3 separate regions of the Homo sapiens genome follow, and regions 1 and 2 are each linked to region 3. The links are contacts of gene promoters, found by promoter capture Hi-C in human tissues and cell types (Jung and others, 2019). All regions are on one chromosome and are shown on one strand. The core of a region is centred on a gene start or on the middle of the fragment in contact, and the rest is flanking DNA. Distances in the headings are between cores, read along the strand shown.

Evidence for each region. Contacts are between HindIII fragments. The study calls those that stand out against the background at their distance.
Region 1: a fragment that was not itself captured here is called in contact with the fragment with the promoter of ZNF445 in region 3 in 1 of the 25 tissues and cell types used here (IMR-90 fibroblasts).
Region 2: a fragment that was not itself captured here is called in contact with the fragment with the promoter of ZNF445 in region 3 in 1 of the 25 tissues and cell types used here (aorta).

The regions. Positions count from the first base shown.
Region 1 is chr3:44,688,100-44,691,230 of GRCh38, forward strand. No RefSeq gene overlaps it. Among named protein-coding and RNA genes, the nearest start is that of ZKSCAN7-AS1, 4.0 kb to the left of the region's middle. The HindIII fragment of the contact is 6,943 bases long and covers 1-3,131 here.
Region 2 is chr3:44,640,624-44,643,712 of GRCh38, forward strand. ZNF660-ZNF197 (ZNF660-ZNF197 readthrough) reads left to right here. Exons shown (of 8, transcript NR_147692.2): 8 at 1,277-3,089. ZNF197 (zinc finger protein 197) reads left to right here. Exons shown (of 6, transcript NM_006991.5): 6 at 1,277-3,089. The region is part of intron 2 of ZKSCAN7-AS1 (ZKSCAN7 ZNF cluster antisense RNA 1); the gene reads right to left. Among named protein-coding and RNA genes, the nearest start is that of ZNF35, 6.6 kb to the right of the region's middle. The HindIII fragment of the contact is 6,969 bases long and covers 1-3,089 here.
Region 3 is chr3:44,476,354-44,479,092 of GRCh38, forward strand. It overlaps ZNF445 (zinc finger protein 445), which reads right to left and starts at 1,317. Exons shown (of 8, transcript NM_181489.6): 1 at 1,238-1,317. It overlaps LOC101928529 (a long non-coding RNA gene), which reads left to right and starts at 1,337. Exons shown (of 4, transcript XR_940785.4): 1 at 1,337-1,856; 2 at 2,229-2,316. RefSeq lists silencers at 1,065-1,114, 1,135-1,294. The HindIII fragment of the contact is 14,864 bases long and covers 1-2,739 here.

The DNA.
Region 1 (3,131 bases), core at 128-2,627, 210 kb after region 3:
TGAGTGTGCTCATGAGAATGAGTCACACACAACGAGTTTCTAATTTTATGGGTGTTTCTTTAATTATGGGGTGGAATAATCATTCAGTATTTTGGAAAAGAAAGGGATTTCAGAGACTCCTCCCAGCCCCCTATTCCCCCCATTACCACCCCCTTTCTCCCTTATTTGGGTTTGCCAAGAAGAGTCATGGACATGTCAGCCTGACCAGGGTTTTGGCCATTTTCTCTCCCTTATTTTGAGTTTTCTGTTATCCTGTGGTTTCTTTGCCTAGTTCTTATTTTAACTGTTGTTCAGGTTTTTCCATACTCCTGTGACTACCCAGTGCTACTCCTGTCTCACAGGTCCAGGAGAAGATGGGTGTCCCAGCTCCAGGAGAGAGAGAGTGAATTCACCTCTCTCTTTTTGTTCTACCTGGGCTCTCAGCCCTTTGGATGGTGCCCACCCATGTTGTGTGAGGGCACATTTTCCTTACTCAGAACACAGATTCAAATGCCAATCTCTTCCAGGAACACTCTCACAGACATACATCCAAAATAGTGCTTTACCAGTTATCTGGGTATTCCTTAACCCAGTCAAGTTGACACCTAAAATTAACCATCACATGTTCTTATAATAAGGAGGGGTTGTTCTACATCTCATTACTGGCTCAGGCCGAAGATAGGTCAAAACTTAAGGACCTAGGGGAGGGAGAGGAGCTTAACTAAAGCTTGGTCAAGTTAAATTAGCAGGTATGCTGTCCAAATTGGTCATGGGTACAAACAGTTCAGTTAATCACTTGTAAAGCAAATCATCTGGAGGGTCTGTGTCTAGACAAACAAGGGGGTGGGGCTATCTGTGAGTCTCATCTAAGTCATATGGGGAAGGATGGCTCTTTGCAGGAAGTCATTTCCTAGAACACTAAAGGGTGTGGGGATTTTTAATTGTCACTGTTTTCCAGGAGAGCAGACTCAGGTAAAGTTTAACATTTTCAGACTCTTGGGGAAAATTAGGTTATCTATTCTTCGTTGGCTGAGATAGGATTCATGAAACACTATCATAAAATATGGCACCTTGCCATTTGAGAAAACAGCAGAAGCAAGATGGTCTCTCTGACCTTCTCCCATGATTCTCCCCTGAAGCAGGCCATAAAACATTCCCTTGGCGGGTGCAGTGGCTCACACCTGTAATCCCAGCACTTCGGAAGGCCGAGGCAGGTGAATCACGAGGTCAGGAGTTCGAGACCAGCCTGGCCAATATGGTGAAACCCTGTCTCTACTAAAAATACAAAAAAAAAATGAGCTGGGTATGGTGGTGCGCGCCTGTAGTCCTGCTACTTGGGAGGCTGAGGCAGAAGAATCTTGAACCTGGGAGGCAGAGGTTGCAGTGAGCCAAGATCACACCACTGCACTCCAGCCTGGGCAACAGAGTGAGACTCTGTCTCAAAAAGAAACAAACAAACAAACAAAAAACCAAAAAAAAAACCTTCCCTTAAAAGGCTGGGCATGGTGGCTTTCTCACACCTGTAATCCCAGCATGATGGGAGGCCAAGGTGGATGGATCACCTGAGGTCAGGAGTTTGAGACCAGACTGGCCAACATGGCAAAACCCTGTCTCTACTAAGAATACAAAAATTAGCCAGATGTGGTGGCGTGCACCTGTAATCCCAGCTACTCAGGAGGCTGAGGCCGAGAATCTCCTGAACCCAGGAGGCGGAGGTTACAGTGAGCCAAGATCATACCATTGCACTCTAGCCTGGGCAATAAGAGTGAAACTCTATCTTGAAAATAGTAATAATAATAATAATATCCTTTCTTGCAAAATATAGTAATTAAAAAATTAATCCTACATCACAAACCCTTGTAGCAGACAGAGCACATCTCCCCATATATATGATCATTGCACCTAGGGTGGACACTTTCTTCCTCTTACTTTCAGGGACACCCTACTTTGTCTATGGTGTAGCTGTACTTTCACTACTTTCACACCAGCTCACCAGCAATGGATCCAAACCAAGACAAAATCTGTGAATTGCCAGAAAAAGAATTCAGACAGTCAACTATTAAGCCAACCAAGCAGGCATCAGAGAAAGATGAGGTCCAACTTAAAAAAAATTTTTTAAATGATACAGTATATGAAGGGGAAACTCTCCAGTGAAATAGGTAGCATAAATAAAAATTACAACTTCTGGAAATCAAGGACACATTTAGAGAATTGGAAATGCACTGGAAAGTCTCAGCAATAGACTCAAACAAGAAGGAAAAGAATATCAGAGCTCAAAGACAAGCCTTTCAAATTAACCCAGTTCATCAAAGACCAAGAAAAGAGAATTTTAAAAAATGAACAAAACTTCTAAGAAATTTGGGATTATGTAAAATGACCAAACCTATGAATAATTGTTGTTCCCAAGGAAGACAAGAAATCTAAAATCTTGGAAAACATATTAGAGGTAATAATTGAGAAAAACTTCCCTGGTCTTGCTAGAGATCTAGACATCCAAATACAAGAAGCTCAAAGAACACCTGGGAAATTCATTGCAAAAAGATCATTGCCTAGGCACACACTCATCAGGTTATCTAAAGTCAAGACTAAGGAAAGAATCTTAAGAGCTGTGAGACAAAAACATCAGGAACCTATAAAGGAAACCCTATCAGATTAACAGCAGATTTCTGAGCAGAAACCCTACAAGCTATAAGGGATTGGGGTTCTATGTTTAGCCTCCTAAACAAAACAATTATCAGGCAAGAATTTTGTATACAGTGAAACTTAGCTTCCTAAATGAAGGAAAGATACAATCTTTTTCAGACAAACAAACGCTGAGAGAATTCATCACTACCAAGCCAGCACTATAAAAACTGCTAAAAGGAGCTCCAAATCTTGAAACAAATCCTTGAAATACACCAAAATAGGGTCCCCTGAAAGCATAAATCTCACAGTACTTATAAAACAACAACATGATGAAAAAAAACCAAGTTATTCAGGCAACAAATAGCACAATGAATAGAATAATACCTTGGATCTTAATACTAACACTGAATGTAAATGGCCTAAATGCTCCATTTAAAAGATACAGAATGGCAGAATGGAGAAGAATTCACCAACCAAGTATCTGCTGTCTTCAAGAGACTCACCTAACACATAAGGACTCACATAAA
Region 2 (3,089 bases), core at 444-2,943, 160 kb after region 3:
CTCCTCAGCCTCCCAGAGTGCTGGAATTACAGGCATGAGCCACCATGCCCGGCCTCTCCTTATGTTTGAAACCTCACTGTGAATAAGGAAACTGAAGTACCAGCATTAGATAGGCTTAAGACACATACCCATCCCTGCAGCCAGGTGGTTGGGTAGTGTGACTGGCAGTCCTGCCTGAGTCCTAGAGAGAAGGGCAGTTGAGATGAGATATGAGGGCCTGACCTAAGAATGTCTGTAGTTCAAGTTAATATTTGTTGGATATTTGCCATCCTCATCCTTTCATAAACTTAAAGAAATGTATAATGAAATAAAATGGCTGCACTCTTGTCTTCTCTCTCTGTTTAGATAGAAGAAAAGTATTGTTATATTCAAAGAGAAGATGATGTTACTGCTATTCACATAACTTTACTTATTAGACAGTTTGGGGGAACTGGCTCATAATTTCTCTCACACTTGGGTAGTTTGAAAGTAAACTTCCAAAACATTTTCATACTGTTCATACTTTAAAATATTTGAGAATATTGGAGTAGATAGGAACCTTGGATATTAGTTTAGCCTCATCATTTTACAGATGTTTTCATACTTTTATTCTATTTTCCCTTTTCTTTTCTGTATTTCTTCTCTTACCTTTTATGTGTAATTAAGGGAGTTCATAACAGACCTGACTATTTAAAATGAATTTTAAAATTTCCATTTCTTAATTTTAAACGGAGTAGGAGTTATATGAATTCTAAGAATTAAGTTGCTTTTCAATGGATTTCTTTTCTGTTGGTTAATTGCTTTCAACCAGTTAAAAAGTATTCATGCCTTTGACTTTTCAAAAATTAAAAATTGCCTTTCAGAGTCCTTACATATATTTTCCTTCCCTTAAAGTTTCCATCCTTCTAACATGAAGAAAATAATAAAGAAAGTTACTTCTAATCCAATGGTTCTTGCTCTTCTATCCAAGTTCCTTAGATGTGAACCACCTCCATAAGATCCTGTGTTTTCTCTCTGGTTTTCCTTGCTTCTGTTTTCTCAGCATTATTTGTATTTTTCTATCTGCTTCCTGAAGACAAAGCACTTAAAAATGTCTCAACCTGAGTTGTATGTTAATCCATTTACAACATCTTGTCAGTGTAGCATTATTCTTTGTACCTTCCTTTAATGAAAAGTTTCTCCTTTTTGTATGCATATTAAAGTGTGCCTTCCTAGAATGTTTTAAAGTCATTTGAAGATCCTGTTCTTCCAAACACAGGGACGTGGTAACATTTGCATTTTTAATTCCTTTTACCAGAATGGGAGACCATGACCGAGAATGAGGAGGTGACATCAAAGCCAAGTAGTTCTCAAAGAGCAGACTCTCATAAAGGAACATCAAAAAGACTTCAAGGAAGTGTTCCCCAGGTCCTTGATTTTGAAGAAGAGTGTGAATGGCAAGTTTTGGCAAGTCAGTGGGGAAATGAAACAGATGAAAGGGCAGATACAGTGAAGAAAGTTTCCCTTTGTGAACGAGACAAGAAGAAAAGGACTCCACCAGAGAAACAAGGCCAAAAGTGGAAGGAATTAGGAGACAGCTTGACTTTCGGTTCAGCTATTTCTGAAAGTTTAATAGGTACTGAAGGAAAGAAGTTTTATAAATGTGATATGTGTTGTAAACATTTTAATAAAATCTCCCATCTTATAAACCATCGGAGAATCCACACTGGTGAGAAACCTCATAAATGTAAGGAATGTGGAAAAGGCTTTATTCAGCGTTCGAGCCTTCTAATGCATTTACGGAACCATTCAGGGGAGAAACCTTATAAATGTAATGAATGTGGGAAAGCATTTTCTCAAAGTGCTTACCTTCTAAACCATCAGAGGATCCACACTGGGGAGAAACCTTATAAGTGTAAGGAGTGTGGAAAGGGCTTCTATAGGCACTCAGGCCTAATTATACATCTAAGGCGCCATTCAGGGGAGAGACCTTATAAGTGTAATGAATGTGGGAAAGTCTTCTCTCAGAATGCTTACCTCATTGACCATCAGAGGCTCCACAAAGGGGAAGAACCTTATAAATGTAATAAGTGTCAGAAAGCTTTCATTCTGAAGAAGAGCCTCATTCTGCACCAGAGAATCCACTCTGGGGAAAAACCCTATAAATGTGATGAATGTGGAAAGACCTTTGCTCAGACCACTTATCTTATTGACCATCAGCGACTCCACAGTGCAGAGAACCCTTACAAGTGTAAAGAATGTGGAAAAGTTTTCATTCGAAGCAAAAGCCTCCTCTTACATCAGAGAGTCCACACAGAAAAGAAAACCTTTGGTTGTAAAAAGTGTGGGAAGATTTTCAGTTCTAAGTCAAACTTCATTGACCATAAGAGGATGCACAGCAGAGAGAAACCTTACAAATGCACTGAATGTGGGAAAGCCTTTACTCAAAGTGCTTACCTTTTTGACCACCAGAGACTCCACAATGGGGAGAAGCCCTATGAATGTAATGAATGTGGGAAAGTTTTTATTCTGAAGAAGAGCCTCATTTTACATCAAAGGTTCCACACTGGAGAGAATCTCTATGAATGTAAAGATTGTGGTAAGGTCTTCGGTTCAAACAGAAACCTCATTGACCATGAGAGACTCCACAATGGGGAGAAGCCATATGAATGTCGAGAGTGTGGGAAAACCTTTATTATGAGCAAAAGTTTTATGGTCCATCAGAAACTCCATACACAAGAGAAAGCCTACAAATGTGAGGATTGTGGGAAGGCTTTCAGTTACAATTCAAGCCTGCTTGTACATCGGAGAATCCACACCGGAGAAAAACCCTTTGAATGCAGTGAGTGTGGAAGAGCTTTCAGTTCAAACAGAAACCTCATTGAGCATAAGAGAATCCACAGTGGTGAGAAACCCTATGAGTGTGATGAGTGTGGCAAATGCTTCATTCTGAAGAAAAGCCTCATTGGACATCAGAGAATTCACACGAGGGAAAAATCTTATAAATGCAATGACTGTGGGAAGGTCTTCAGTTACCGCTCAAACCTTATAGCCCATCAGAGGATCCATACTGGTGAGAAGCCCTATGCGTGTAGTGAGTGTGGAAAAGGTTTTACGTACAACAGAAACCT
Region 3 (2,739 bases), core at 67-2,566:
CGGCTTACAGTAAGACTTTTTTTTTTTTCTAACCAAAATGTGTCTGCCTTTCATTAAGATAACATAAAAGAGCAGCCTAATTCTTTGGTCCCTGAATATGCACACACATGCATGCACACACACACACGCAGACACACACACAACACATGGAGGCTCTCTGAAACTGCTTAATCAAATTACTGCTCAAACCACTCCCTGGCACTTCCTTGCAAAACAACCAACCTAATACTGAGTTTTTAGTTTTGCACTACAAGCCGTTTGAAACAGAATAACATTCTTTCCTGGCCACCACTTTTAAATTCGGAAGGAGACAATACTCTGATCTCTTAGGCCTGTGCAAGTCAGAGTGTGCTACAATCGCTGCAGGTTAGAGCTCTGCCTTTGTTTAAAAACTGCATTTTATATACTAGTTACTTCATTGTGAAAGATAACCACCCTGACAAACAAGATTTTGCTATTTTTCTGCACAAATGTCACTTCACCATTTAGAGCTTCATGCAAATGTGTCTCCTACAGAAAATAAACTGCAAACACGATTTCTTAATTATCCTCGCCAAAAAAAAAATGTTTTAGTGGTGTCATAATGCCAGCACTAATTTTAGCCAAAATAAGAACAAATGCATTCTACAAATTCAGGAGATTATAATTTTTAAAAAGCAGTAGTATGGATATACTTAATGTCACTGAATTACACACTTCCAAATGGTTAAATGGTAAACGTTTATGTATTGTATGGTAAATGTTATGTGTTATTTTGGCACAATATTGTTTCCTCACAATAATACTAACAGGTTTTTTAAAAAGCAAGAGCACGCTCTCATTTCGTAATATATATTTATGGATGTCAGTGTGCAGAATTATGCACAGATATTTTAAATGTCAGGAGGCCTGGAGACAGATTTCAGGATTGCGGCTACTTTTACTTTTCTTCTACTTTCCCGTGTTATCTAATTGTCTCTGATAAATACGCTTTATATGCAGAATTGGATGAAACGAGAAAGCCCGGAGAAACCCGGGCTCCAGATTCTCTACCCCGGACGCCTGGGAGGCAAAGAGGTTCTAGATACGCCCTCAGCGTGGCGGGGGCGGGATCCACCGCCAGACCCCCGCCACGGGCGCAGCCTCCAGGCCGGGCCCCGTCCGCCGCCCGGGCAGGCCCGAGAATGCCGCGGACTTCGGGGAGCCCCGCGCCCGCAATGCCGCCACCCCCACCCCCGCGCCCCGCCAGGCCTCTCACCGACTCCCGCCGCCGAGCGACAATCGGTCCACCCGCCGCCACCGCAGCCGCCCGTCCCGCGCCTACCTCCCGGCGGCTCCAGTCGCGCACGCGCGTCGGCGCCCGGGGCCCTCCGCGGCCTCTCTAGGAAACTGGGAGGCCCAACGTCTCTGCTTCTCTCCGGCTCCGGTGCGGCGGGCGGCGGGGCTTGTCCAACATCCCTCACCTCCCTCAGTTGGACATTTCCCTTCCACGCTCGGATGCCCAGCCGCGCCTGTTTTCTTGCATCCCTCCTGTCGTGTCTGCGGGGCTGCCCTGAAGGCCTCTTTCCCTCCAGGGAAGAAAGGGATCCAAAGCTAGGGGTGAAAATAGGGCCAGCAGTATCTAGCAGACTGGTCCTGGCCAGGAGAAGGGGTTAAGGGAGCCACTCATTCTTCGCCTGGGTACACTTCAAAGAGGGGAACCAGATCCTACGGGAAGCTAGGTGCCAGAACTCCTGCCTTTCCAAGACGAGCTCATCCCCATCATCACCATACCCAGGAATACTTGTTCATAGCCAGCTCAGAGGTGCACCATACTTTAGCTTCCCACGGCCTTCACTCGTTTTCTCCTGTGGGTGAATTCTAACTAGGCTCGCCTGGTGAGTGAACAATGATGCCATTGCCCAATAATATGTGGAATCTGGGAGGAGTAGGTTGGGGGTAGGGGGTGGAGGGGCTGCTTGAAGAGGAGGTGAAGCAACCTGGAGAGGTTGCCCACCCCCTGTAGGAGCAAATGTCATCTATTGCCAGTGCCAGAGAACCTTGAGGGTGCACAGCCAAAGCCATAAGGCCATCTGCTGCCATTGGAGGGCATGCTACAAGCTGCTGTCCTGGTAGTCCTCTGGTTTGTGCTTCCTAGTGGCAGGCTGCAACATGTTGACGATTGATCTTTCAGATGGGCATTGATGATGCCCATCTGTGCCCTGAGGCTTTGCTTTACTCATCTGATCCACCCCTTTTTAATGCCCCAGTCACCAAAGATGGAAACAGAGAATAGATCCTGAACACCAGGAAGATGGTGACAAGGTGATAGAGAAACAGATGGCACATTCAAACAAGGTAAGTGGGGAGAGTTCACAAGGGGCGATTTACACAAAGTGGACAGGGTTAAGGAAATGCAACACGGAGTGGTGCAGAATCCCATGGCTAGCAAAATTTAGAAGCTATTCTCACCCCTAGGAGCAGGCCATCTGAGAGAAACTGTGGCTTTCAGTTGAGGGCTACATCCAAGCCATAGTCCAGCACAAAGGAAGCTGAGGTAATAAATAACCTGAACCCAGCTCTCTTCTGATCTCCTGCCAGGGCTTCCCATTGGCCCAACTCAACTGGAAGCCAGAGGGCAATCCAGGAAACTCAGTCTCCCAAGTGTCACAGCAGGGTTGAGGACTGAGACTGAATATGGAGGGGCAATTGGAAAATATCCAACACATACAAAAAGGAAAATAGAAACTGCTTGTCAATGCCTAATTTGTCCATTAATTT